2 separate regions of the Homo sapiens genome follow, and region 2 is linked to region 1. The links are contacts of gene promoters, found by promoter capture Hi-C in human tissues and cell types (Jung and others, 2019). All regions are on one chromosome and are shown on one strand. The core of a region is centred on a gene start or on the middle of the fragment in contact, and the rest is flanking DNA. Distances in the headings are between cores, read along the strand shown. Region 1 holds the start of FIGN (fidgetin, microtubule severing factor). Region 2 has its middle 150 kb from the start of FIGN.

Evidence for each region. The method cuts DNA at HindIII sites, captures the fragments that hold promoters and counts their contacts. A contact is called where the count stands out against the background at its distance.
Region 2: a contact is called between a fragment that was not itself captured here and the fragment with the promoter of FIGN in region 1, in 1 of the 25 tissues and cell types used here (mesenchymal stem cells).

The regions. Positions count from the first base shown.
Region 1 is chr2:163,733,165-163,739,007 of GRCh38, forward strand. FIGN (fidgetin, microtubule severing factor) reads right to left here and starts at 2,844. Exons shown (of 3, transcript NM_018086.4): 1 at 2,674-2,844; 2 at 1,739-1,908. The coding sequence starts at 1,763. It overlaps LOC107985957 (a long non-coding RNA gene), which reads right to left and starts at 777. Exons shown (of 2, transcript XR_001739759.2): 1 at 1-777. RefSeq lists enhancers at 3,451-3,967, 3,968-4,483. The HindIII fragment of the contact is 21,926 bases long and covers 1-5,843 here.
Region 2 is chr2:163,580,966-163,586,347 of GRCh38, forward strand. No RefSeq gene overlaps it. Among named protein-coding and RNA genes, the nearest start is that of FIGN, 150 kb to the right of the region's middle. The HindIII fragment of the contact is 4,440 bases long and covers 1-3,943 here.

The DNA of each region.
Region 1 (5,843 bases), core at 1,594-4,093:
TGCACATCGGACATTTAAACATAGGGAAATGAATTATGTGACTATTATTTAATAGTAAGCAGAGACTTAAGAGGGGGGCAATTTACACACTCAAATCTGCTGTTAAATGTCATGAATTATATAATTGCCTATGCCAGTATGTTTTTCATGAATTATTGCAATGATTATTATTAGTACTACCTAGAAATCACATTTAAGTATCAATACGGTGAACAGTCAAACCATCCAATTTCTGCTCTCAGCACATTGTCCGAGCTCCGATTTAAAATTTATAAATGTAATATCCTCCTCATCACAGGCAGCAGCCCAATCTGCTCTGAATATATATTACAGCTTTAACATCACAGAGGGAAATCGCCCATCTGGCAATCCCATTCGCTCCAACAGCTCCGGGGGAAAAAAAGCTGTGCTCTCTCCTCCTTAAAACATTTCTCAGGGCAAATTATGTGCATCTAAAATAAACAGTCTTCTTATTGATCGCTTCAAAGTCAACAAGTTCCAAATGCAAAATTCAATCAAATCTTTCCTATCGTGTAAGTGTGGTGTGTATTTAGCTCAATAGTCACCAGAGTCCAACCAGACGTGTATGTCGCGCAACGGGTCTTGTAGTTCCTCTCTTCGTATTCACATTTGTGTTAGGAGAGAGCAGTGACCACGGCCACACTACAGACCCCTGGCAGCTTTGCCCCACTGTTATTTCTTTTTTCATATTCTCTCTTTCCTTCTTTCTCTCTTTTCAGGAGGAATTAACGGTCATGGGGTAAACATAGCAACAACCAAAAAAAAAAAAAAAAAAAACAGTCTAAAGTGGACATATCCTTTGGTTATGCAAAATACTTTAACATCTTTTTGTTGTTGTTGTTCCCTCTGTCTTAATTGAATATTACAAAGTGTACACAGGGCACTGCCACAAGAGCTATTGAAAATCCCCTCTCACTCCATTTAACTGACTTTTTTTTTTTGTAAAGAAAGGAAAGAGCGATTTCAAACGAAGTCAATTTCAGTGCCTGATTATTTAATTCTGTCACAAGTTAAAAGTAAAAAGCGCTGACAGGCAGACGAGTGAATGGAAAGGGGGAAGAAAAACCTATCCCTACTCTTTAAAAGACATCAAGGACTTTGGACAATCAAAATATAATTTTTATTTTCATGTAAAAGACACCTCTTCACTTACCCGCCCCCCCCAAAAAAAAACCACACTCAGAAGAACTGATTACTCCACAAAGTGCAAACATCAAGAGCAGATAGTCAAACTGCATTAATAGATTGAGAAAAATAAAATTTTCATCCAGTCCTGTTCCTGTGTGTGTACATATATATAGATACACTTTCATTAGTTAGTAATCTTTCCCAACACTCCTGCCCTCTCCCCTTTGCCCAGCCTCCCTCCTTCAAAAAAAAAAAAAAAAAAAACCCACACTGAGTTTAACTAATTTACATACTATTTGACTTCAGCAGTTATATATATATAGTGCATTACTAGTAACGTGCAACTTCTGGATGACAGCTAAAACCGATAAAAGTGGATTCAAGTAATATATTAATCAAAACTGCAATATACAAACAAGTGATAGCAAAAGAAAAAAAAGCATGGTGACATTAAACATATATTTTTTAAAAAAAGGAATTCTATATCATGAGCAACTGCTTGCCAGGCAGTCTTCAATGGTTTTATCATGCTATTTCATTTGTCTTTCCTATTTAGATGCAAAGGAAGTAAATTCCAAAACTGACATACCATAAACACTGGTGCTACTGATCATTTCTTGCTGGCAGCACAAAAAGCTGAATTGGATTTCTCACAAGCAGGAATTCCAAAGGTTGCTTTTCATTAAAGCCACTTTTCCTCTCAGCTATCAAATGTCACTGCCTTGAAACGTGGGCCCTTTCGTCAGGTATTCATTTAACCTACATGCATATAATTAAGGGGGAAAGCAACATCAACAAAAAGGGGATCTCAGATCACAGGAGAAGAAAGAAAGGAAAAAAAGCACATGACCAGGAATGCAAGTCCATGTCAATTTCACTCACTCCCATTGAAACTAACAAGAGCTCCGGGGAGGACGGTAATAGGATCAGTGGATTGTATATACCATTAAATTATACATCTTTCTCTCCCGTTCCTTGCCAACAATACGCCCACCACGCTGTACCCCCTCCTAGATGATGTGCTTACATTTTTCTGCAACCGATCTTCTGACATTTTCTCGTTCCCCCAGCCACGAGATTGTAATTTAACCTCAACTTTTTGTGTGTGTGCAAGATTCTTATTTACACTTCTTATTTACTTAGAAGTTAGTTCCCGAAGAAAGTCTAGCCCCACCCTATGGCTCCGCTTTCTTATTTTTTTATTTTTGAAGTAAAAAGATAGTAATAAGTAAGCCCAATATAGCGAAAAGCGAGATTCTTGCAATCGCGAACTCTTAATCCCATACTATTGTTACAATGATTAAGCAGCAAAAATATGCATTATAATGTTTCAGGGCTACTTTGAACAGAGAAATTAGACAGCAGGTTGGCGTACAGAATAGAAACGAGTGGAAATTGAATTTAATGTTTACGGCACAACTGAAGATCTCTTTTAATTACAGGTCTTGGATGTATTTATATTCTTTAAAAATAAAACAAAAACAAATTTAAACAGATGGTAGAAAACTACGAAGCTCCTCTTACCTGAACGCGCGGAGAGAGAACCCGATAGGTTAGCGTAGCATCGATCCGATGTGTTTGCTGATGAATGGAAGCTAGGGTTAAGTGAAGGTGCCTATGATTTGAAATCATTCCAAGTTTTTGAAGGGAAGACGGACTGCAGCCTCTGCCATGTTGGAATTTCAAACCCAAAACAGCTGCTTGGAAGGAGCCAGCATGCCAGAGGCTGGGCGCAGGCGCAGAGCGCCGCAGAGCCAAATTCAAATCACTTTCACACTAAGAGCCAAAGATCAGTTTTCAAAGGAGAGAGGGAGAAAGAGACGGAGGCTGCCGTGAGGGAGAGAAGACGGGAGGCAGTGGCGAGAGGCGGGCAGTGGAGAGAGACGGGCAGCGGGAGGACCAGGAGGGAGAGGGAGAGGCGCACGGAGCCCGCGGAGCTGGAGGGGGAGAAAGGGAGGCGGGAGGCGAGCCGGCGAGCGAGCTAGAGACGCGCCAGAGATTCATGGGCAGGGAGGGCTCAATGGCCGCGCCGCGCCGGCCGGCCGGCCGCTCGGGTCATGTTACACGGCCGGGGCCGCGGCGGCCGCCCAGCCTCGCCGATGCGCTCACGCGGCCCGGAGGGGGCCCCGAGGTCATGATTACGCGCGCGGGGACTCGCAGCTCTCCCTGCACGCACTCTCTGGCGGCCCAGCCTGGGGAAAGGGGAGCAGCGCCGTAGGGGGAAGGGGGCTTTCTTTCCCACGCGTGACCAGCCGGCCCCTGCGCTCCCCGGCCTGCGTTGGAGGGCCCGGGACAGAGCCGCGCTGCTCCCCGGCCCGCGGGCTCTTCCCTGCCGGTTCCCGGCCCTCTCGACAGCTGCGGCCCGTCCGCCCTTCCCCACCCCCTCTGCGCACGGGACGGGATCTGGTCTCGAGAGCCTGGACCTCACCGGCACCCTCCCCGGGGCCCCCAGCACCAGCCAGAAAACGACTTGATCTGCTTAGAAGAGGCAACTTCGGGGAGAAAATTCGCGTTCGCCCAGTTCCCCTCCCCCGCCTCCCTGTGAATAAATAAAATCCTAAGTGTCTAGGTGTGCGGTCCCCTCTCGCGCTCCCTGGCTCCCCTCCCTACCTCCCCCAGGCGGCTCGGGCTGGAGAAAGCAGCGCCCGGGGGGCCCTGGTGTCGGCGGCTGGTGCGCAGGCATAGACGTTAGGCTTCTGCCTTCCCAACCCCCCTCTATGGAGTAATCTGGGGACCCAGGAGTGGGAAGAGAGTAGGGGCTTTGTGGTGCTGGGAGCCGAGGAAGAATGAAATGTGCAGTTGAGTGTGTTGCTCGCATCCCAGGGAGCAATGCAGTGCTGATTGTCTGTTGCTGAGATAGCCTTTTGTTCGGAACATAAGGTTTAAGAAACACACACACGTTTTCTGGGGTCTCTTGTTAGATGTAAATGTGCGGCATCCAGACGCTTACTATGCAGTGTAAGCTCAGTTGGTTTACTAATCACCCCGCCCCACCCGCAAACAATCAGGATCATTTGAATGGGAACCTCATTCAGACTTCTAGGCTGAGAGTATTGCCTTCAACCTATTTCATTCTAGACTAGCCAACCATCCAACTGAGATAATAAAGCAAACAATAACATTTGATCATGATGTCTACGAGATAATGTGCCCGGCAAAGTTCTTTAGGAATTGTAATGAGAAAGAGAGTGAATTGGGTCATAATTTCTCTTCGTTTTCATTAAATATGACTTTAATAGATAAATGGTGAGTTTATACTTTGGCCTGGTAGACATCCAGTCTTCTATATTTCAACGAAGCTAAGAATGAAAGAGGCAAATTATATATTCCACCAGGAGCCCATCAAGCTGAAAATGTTACCTTTGAAGGTTGGAACCGAAAATGCACTTGCTGAGGACTGACCCTCCTCATAAGGGTGTTCACATTTCCCCCAGCTTCTCTGTTGTAGATTTGATAGCCTAAATTGCAGCTCTCCAGATGCTGAAATGCAGCTCTTTAAAAATGCCAAATATATACTTTGAAATTAATTCCATTCACCTTTTATGATGTTCTTACCTTTGAATGGATGCCTTTAGCTAACACACTGAGAAATAAAAATTATTTCAGTTAAATCTAGGCAGATGACAGAATTTAAAAGACAAAAAAAGAGTGATTCGAGATCCTAAGAAATATTTCTAAGCAATGAGATTTCTATTTGGAATGGATTTGACCTTTCTGTGAATTTTTTAAAAAAGGAGTCTTCGAAATAAAACAGAAGAACTTTATTCTGATGTAACAGAGAACACTGAAACCTCTTTAGTTATATTTTACAAGATGGCTTTGAAAATGATATTACGAAAAGTTGTTCATTGGATTTTACCACAAAGAAATAAGTGTAGGGAAATATCTGTGGGTCACTGTTGGATTGAGTACAGATGAATTAAAAAAAAAAAAAAAAACTGTGAAGCGCTCATAATCGCAGTTATTGCCCATTTGGGGAATGACGACCAAAAGTCCTCTGGACACACAGCAGATGCTCTGTGCAATTCGGGCAAAACTGCTCTGTTCTTGTTTGTTAAAAAAGTTCAGAGCTCATCAACCTTTAACATTAAATCCTAGCGTTGAATTTACAGTTCCTTGTGTAAATTCAAATAGTGAATAAAATATATAATACAGTGCCCACTGAATATAAAAACAATGTATTTTGATGACAGACTTAAAGCCATTCATCTGTAATATCTAAAATAAAACAACCCCTGCTCTTTAAAAAGAGGAGGAAAAAGTGTGGTCAGCAAGAGTTTATTAATAGATAATAACTGTACCTTTCCAATTCCCTTATAGATTCATTTGAAATACACATTATAAAAAAATCATTCAACATGCAAATAAATATAATTAACTTTGGAATCAAATAATTGGAAAACTGTTCAAAAGAGCACTGGATAGAGGTACAGAGTTTCTAAATTGTTCAAAATTACATATACTCTGGGAATAAAAGACACTTACATAATAGAATATACATTATGGGACTTCCATAATAATAAGATACACAGGAGAGTTCGTCATTGCACTATTTCTCCCTTTTTTTTTAAGTATAGGTAAAAGTTGCTTTTCTCCAATTATTTTAAGCAAAGGAAAATAAAACTTGACTTTCTTTTCCACAGAGATTCATGGCATTGTTTGCGATGTTCAGTTTTTGTTGTTTTAATAAAACT
Region 2 (5,382 bases), core at 474-2,973, 150 kb before region 1:
GCAATCAAGTAGCTATGGTACTTATCACTGTGGCAACAATGGTGATTGTAAACATGGTGGCATCAGCTGGCTTATTTTGGTGGCCCTAAAGAATGTATAAAGGAAAAATTAAATATCAAACTGCAATTATACATAGAAAAATCAAGTCACTGGCAGCAATGAAGGAGTCCTTCATCTCCCGAAGTTGGGAAGATATGACTGAGAATCAAGCCCATGGCTGGAATGTAAGAGCTGAAAATTTGATAGCCAATTAAACCTACTAGATCTTTTATACCAAGGCAAAGGAGCTGGTAGAAAGGTGAAAAGAAAAATCTCGTGTGTTGAAATATGTACATTTGGGTAGACAAAAATGAGGCTGAGAACTTCAAATGGGTATATCCCTTGTCCTTGCCTTTCCAGCAGAGGCAGCCTCCCCCCAGTATGTTTTATTTTTTATTTTTATTTTTTATTTTACTTTTTTTTTTTGAGTCAGAGTCTCGCTCTTTCGCCCAGGCTGGAGTGCAGTGGCACAATCTCGGCTCACTGCAACCTCTGCCTCCTGGATTCAAGCAATTCTCCTGCCTCAGCCTCCCGAGTAGCTGGGACTACAGGCACCGCCACCATGCCCGGCTAATTTTTTGTATTTTTAATAGAGATGGGGTTTCACCGTGTTAGTCAGGATGGTCTTGATCTCTTGGCCTCGTGATCCACCCACCTCGGCCTCCCAAAGTGCTGGGATTACAGGCGTGAGCCACCGCGCCCGGCCTCCCCCCAGTATTTAAGGGAACCAGTGTTTTAATGGCTGGGTCTAGGTAGTTGCCTCTCAGACTGGTGCTTGTCCTTTCCTAGGATTAATTTCTACCACCCTTAATAATGGGTATTAGACTCTGATATAATCTAAAAGAGGAGTACAAGGCTGGAAGGAAGAAATCCTATACCATGAAAGACTTGTAGAACCTCATTGATTTCTATTGACAGGAATCTGGAGAGCACACAAGGAAGTAAATTATATGGCTGTTTGACCAAGGAAGAAAACATATGAGGCTGGATTAGGTTGAATTTATTGATAAGGGTTTATTCACTCAGGATTTTGGCTCAAATGTGTTGTCTGGAGCACCTAGGAGTTAAGTCTATTAAGTTGGTTATCTAAAATGTGGACTCTGTCAATAGTGGGGTAAATTCAATGAGTTTGAATAATGTAACTTCCCTGGCACAATATAGAAAAATCAAGTCTTAGGAAAATGGGAATGCTGGAATTGATTTATTATATGCTACTGGTCAGCCAGTCTTTATTTATATCACCCAAAAGGGCCCTGAGGCCACGCCCTTTACCAACACTTTTTAAAATGAATCTGTTGGTAAGGAGGGATACCATTATCCTTGAAAACCAAAGTAATGTTCTATGGTGGCTGTTCTCCAGAGGTGATGGTAGAGCATGGTACAATGGAGTTAGATTTCTTGATGACAATGGAAATAATAGGATGCCAGAGACTCAGAAGTCAAGTAGGGGTGCTTACTCGTTATAGATCAAGTGGGCACAATTACCATAATAAGCCACAACGATGGTTCCCTCCCTATAGTCATCAGGAAGTTTGACCTTCAGAGATCTTTGGCATCAGCTATTCAATCACAAGGTCCTTAAAACAAAATAAAAGGACTGTCCAACAAGGAGCTGTTTGGTCTATATAAGGAGAAAAATCCTAGGAGGTTTGGTGGGCTAAATAGTAACTTGATTTATGGTAGTGGAGATTCACTTATTCTTACTTTGTTCTCAGACCAAAGCCAATTTATAAGAGACCTTAGTTTGAGAAGGCCAGATCTATAAGGAATGACCTGGCAATCAGATCAAAGATACATAGCATGAGCCTTCCTCTACACCTGACTTAGGGTTACGTGTTACTACTTAATAATTATGCACTGGAGCAGTGGGTTTTAAACTTAAGTGTGCATCAGAATCACGCAGATGGCTTTTAGAACACAGATTTCTGGGTCTCACTGATTCAGTAAGTTTGGAGTGGAGACCCCAGAATTGATATTCCTAATAAGTCCTCAGGTGACACTGAAGCTGATGGTTTAGGGACCATAATTTGAGAATCCCTGCACTGGAGAACTACACACTTTATGGGATTATTGGATACAGTCTCTTAAATGATACTAATCCCTGGAGACCTAAAACACCACATAGGTCCAATGGTCAGAGTTGAGACTTACAGATATAAGTAAAATCTTAGTCCAAGTTTATTTCATAAGGTGTTCTGAGGGACTTCAGATCCATTTGTTTATAGGCCAAGAATGTATAGTGAGAATAAAAAAACTTAATAAAGAATTTCCTGATGCAGAGTGGGTTTTATTGCATAATAAGGTCCAAACTACATTTTGGACCCTTTTATTGCCTGCCTTTGCTAAGATACTAAGCTAAAAGTCCAGCAGGATGTGCTACCCCAAATGCTTAAACAATTACAGAGGTGGTATGAATTCCCCGTTTTATTCATTTGCATAGTGGCCTATGCAAAAGTCAGATGGGTCTTTAATAATGAGGATATATTATCAGAAACTTAATCAAGCAATGATATCAATCACATCTGACATTCTCAATATAGTATCTTTAGTGGAGGAAATCAGTATGGTCCCTGACCCCTGTGACTTAACAAACACATTTTCCCTTCCCTCCATTAGTAAAGATGAAAAGAAGCTCTTTCCTTCACATAGCAGGAATATCAATATGCCTTTACTCTCTTGACTTAACCTACCTCAGCTCATCTCCTGTTCATCTTAATATGATCTGGAGAGAACTTTATTGCCTTGATACATCACAGAACATGATGATGGGGCATCTTAAATCAGAAGACAACATCTTAAATGTAAGAGACAAGTGTCCCAAAGGGTTGTAAATAAACCCCATGAAAATGCAGGAACCTGTCACTGGTGAAGTTGCTAGGGGTATAGTGGTCTGGGCCATGTCAGCAGATCCTCCTTAAAGTAAGAGTTGATTTGCTGCACTTTCCAACGCAATGAAAGATGCACAATGTTTGATGTACACGTTTGGATTTTGGAGAAAACATATAACACATTTGGGCATGCTACTTTCATGAACTTAGTGGATAAGCTTAACATTACAAGATTTGAGTGGGTCCCAGAACAAGAAAAAGCTCTATAACTTGGCCTTATGACCTAAAAAAACCAATATTACTGGGTTTTAGAAGTGTCAATGGCAGACTGATACATCCACTCCATTTTCCACTTTGATCTGTAACCCAGAAGGCTAAACTATGCTAACTGATCAACAAGTTCTTTTGCTATTTACATGAAGTTTCTGGAAATTTCCAATAGGAGAATCAGTGTGGACCTATAGAAATTTTGAGTAAAATGCCCTCTTTCACTAACAAACTAGTCTCTGCAGAAAAAGCAACTATTTACTTGCTACCATACCCAGTAGAGAACAAATACCTAACCGTAAATACCCACGGTACTTACTATCCATCCCACTTGCTCATTTTTAACTGATGTTATATAATTTGTGGAACTAGCTGGGTACAGTTGCTCACATCTGTAATACTAATGCTTTTGGAGGCTGAGGCTGGAGGATCACTTAAACCCAGGAGTTTGAAACCCTGGGTTCAATTTTTTTTTAACATTTTAAAAAATTAGCCAGGCATGCTGGTACATGCCTGTAGTCCTAACTACTAAGGAGGCTGGGACAGGAGGATTGCTTGAACCTAGGAGTTCGAGCTATTATCATACTCCTGCACTCCAGCTTGTATGACAGATTGAGACTCTGTGTCTAAAAAATAGTAATAATTATAATTCTGGAACCATAAAATTAGAAGTCTGTAGAACATTTCTGTATAAAATGGAAATGATACCATGCAAGTCTAGAAGACATAAGTAAATTGCAGAAGGAGAGGGCTTAGATTCCTGTTGTAGTGGACTGAACTGCTCTACCACCTTTCCCTCTACTCACACCTATGATGTCATGGGCAGTTCCTTATGACATGTTCCAGCAGGGATCTCAGGTCTAGCTACAGAAGTACAAATGTAGTGACTATGTTTTATGTTATTTAACTCTATCCTCTTATTCCCCTGCTACTTTATATGAACAACACTGGTAATCGCTAATGTTTCAGATTCCATGTGAGAGTATGACCAAGCTGAGCGTATGACCAAATTGAGAACATGCAGTATAATAAATTCCTTAGAGTGGATTGATTTTCAGCAGCTGACAGTATAGCATCTGATGGAACTTCGTGTGCTGTTTTAGTTTCCTCTGCCTGCTGTAACAAATTACCACAAACTGCATGGTTTAAAAACAACTGAAATGGCCCTGTGTGGTGGCTCATGCCTATAATCCCAGCACTTTGGGAGGCTGAAGCAAGTGGATTGCTTGAGCTCAGGAGTTTCAGACCAGCCTGGGAAACATAGTGAAACCTTGTCTCTCCTAACTGGGCGTGGTGAGCCAGGCGTGTTTAAGGTTTAAAGAGTGAGGAGATGTGAAATAGCTTTTACTGGGTTTTTATTTTGTTTTATTTGATTTAGGGAAAAAAAATTGAACAAAAAAATTTAGTAGGATTCTGAGAAAAATATAGGGAGAATAAAACTTCTGCATGCTCAGGGCCTTGCCCAGTACTTGGCACATATTAGGAGATTCATTAATTTATTTGCAAATATTTACCATTCGACTACTGTATGTTGAGCACTATTATAGGCATCACAGACATAGCAAAAAATATTAAAACATAAAAATTAAATCCTTGCCTGCTCTTTGATATGTTAGATCAGGTTTTGGCAGATTTTGTTAAGGGGCGTATAGTACATATATATTGAAGCTTTGTGAGCAAGGTGTTTTTTGTTGTAACTACTCGACTCTGTCATTGCAACACAAAACTAGCCATAGACAATACATTAAAAAATAGCCTAGGCTGTGTTCCAATAAAACCTTACAAAAATAAGTGGCAAGTTGGATTTAGCCCATGGGCCATCGTTTGCCAAACTTTACGTTAGAGGGTCACTGGTGCAATGAAGACAAAAGAGGCACAGAAGAAGATGAGGAGTACTTGAGGGGAGGGCATCATTTTTAAAAGTGATGAACAGGTGAAGTTATGCCAAGAAGGTATCATTTATGCAAAGGCTGGGAGGAGGTGAAGGATCAAGCCATGTAGGTGAGTGTTCCCAGAGGAGAATGCCAGTATAAAGGTTCTTAAATAGGACAGCATCTTGTATGTTTGTAGAATAGCAAGGCAGTTGAGCAGAAGGAGTAAAGGGGGAGTAACAGTAGATGAGATCGGGAATTTAAAAGGGAGGAGGATAATATAAGACCTTGTAGATTACTGTTATGATGCACAGTAAAATGGAGTGTCGTTAGAGGGTTTTGACTAGGGGACTGCCATGATTTGACTTGTTTTAACA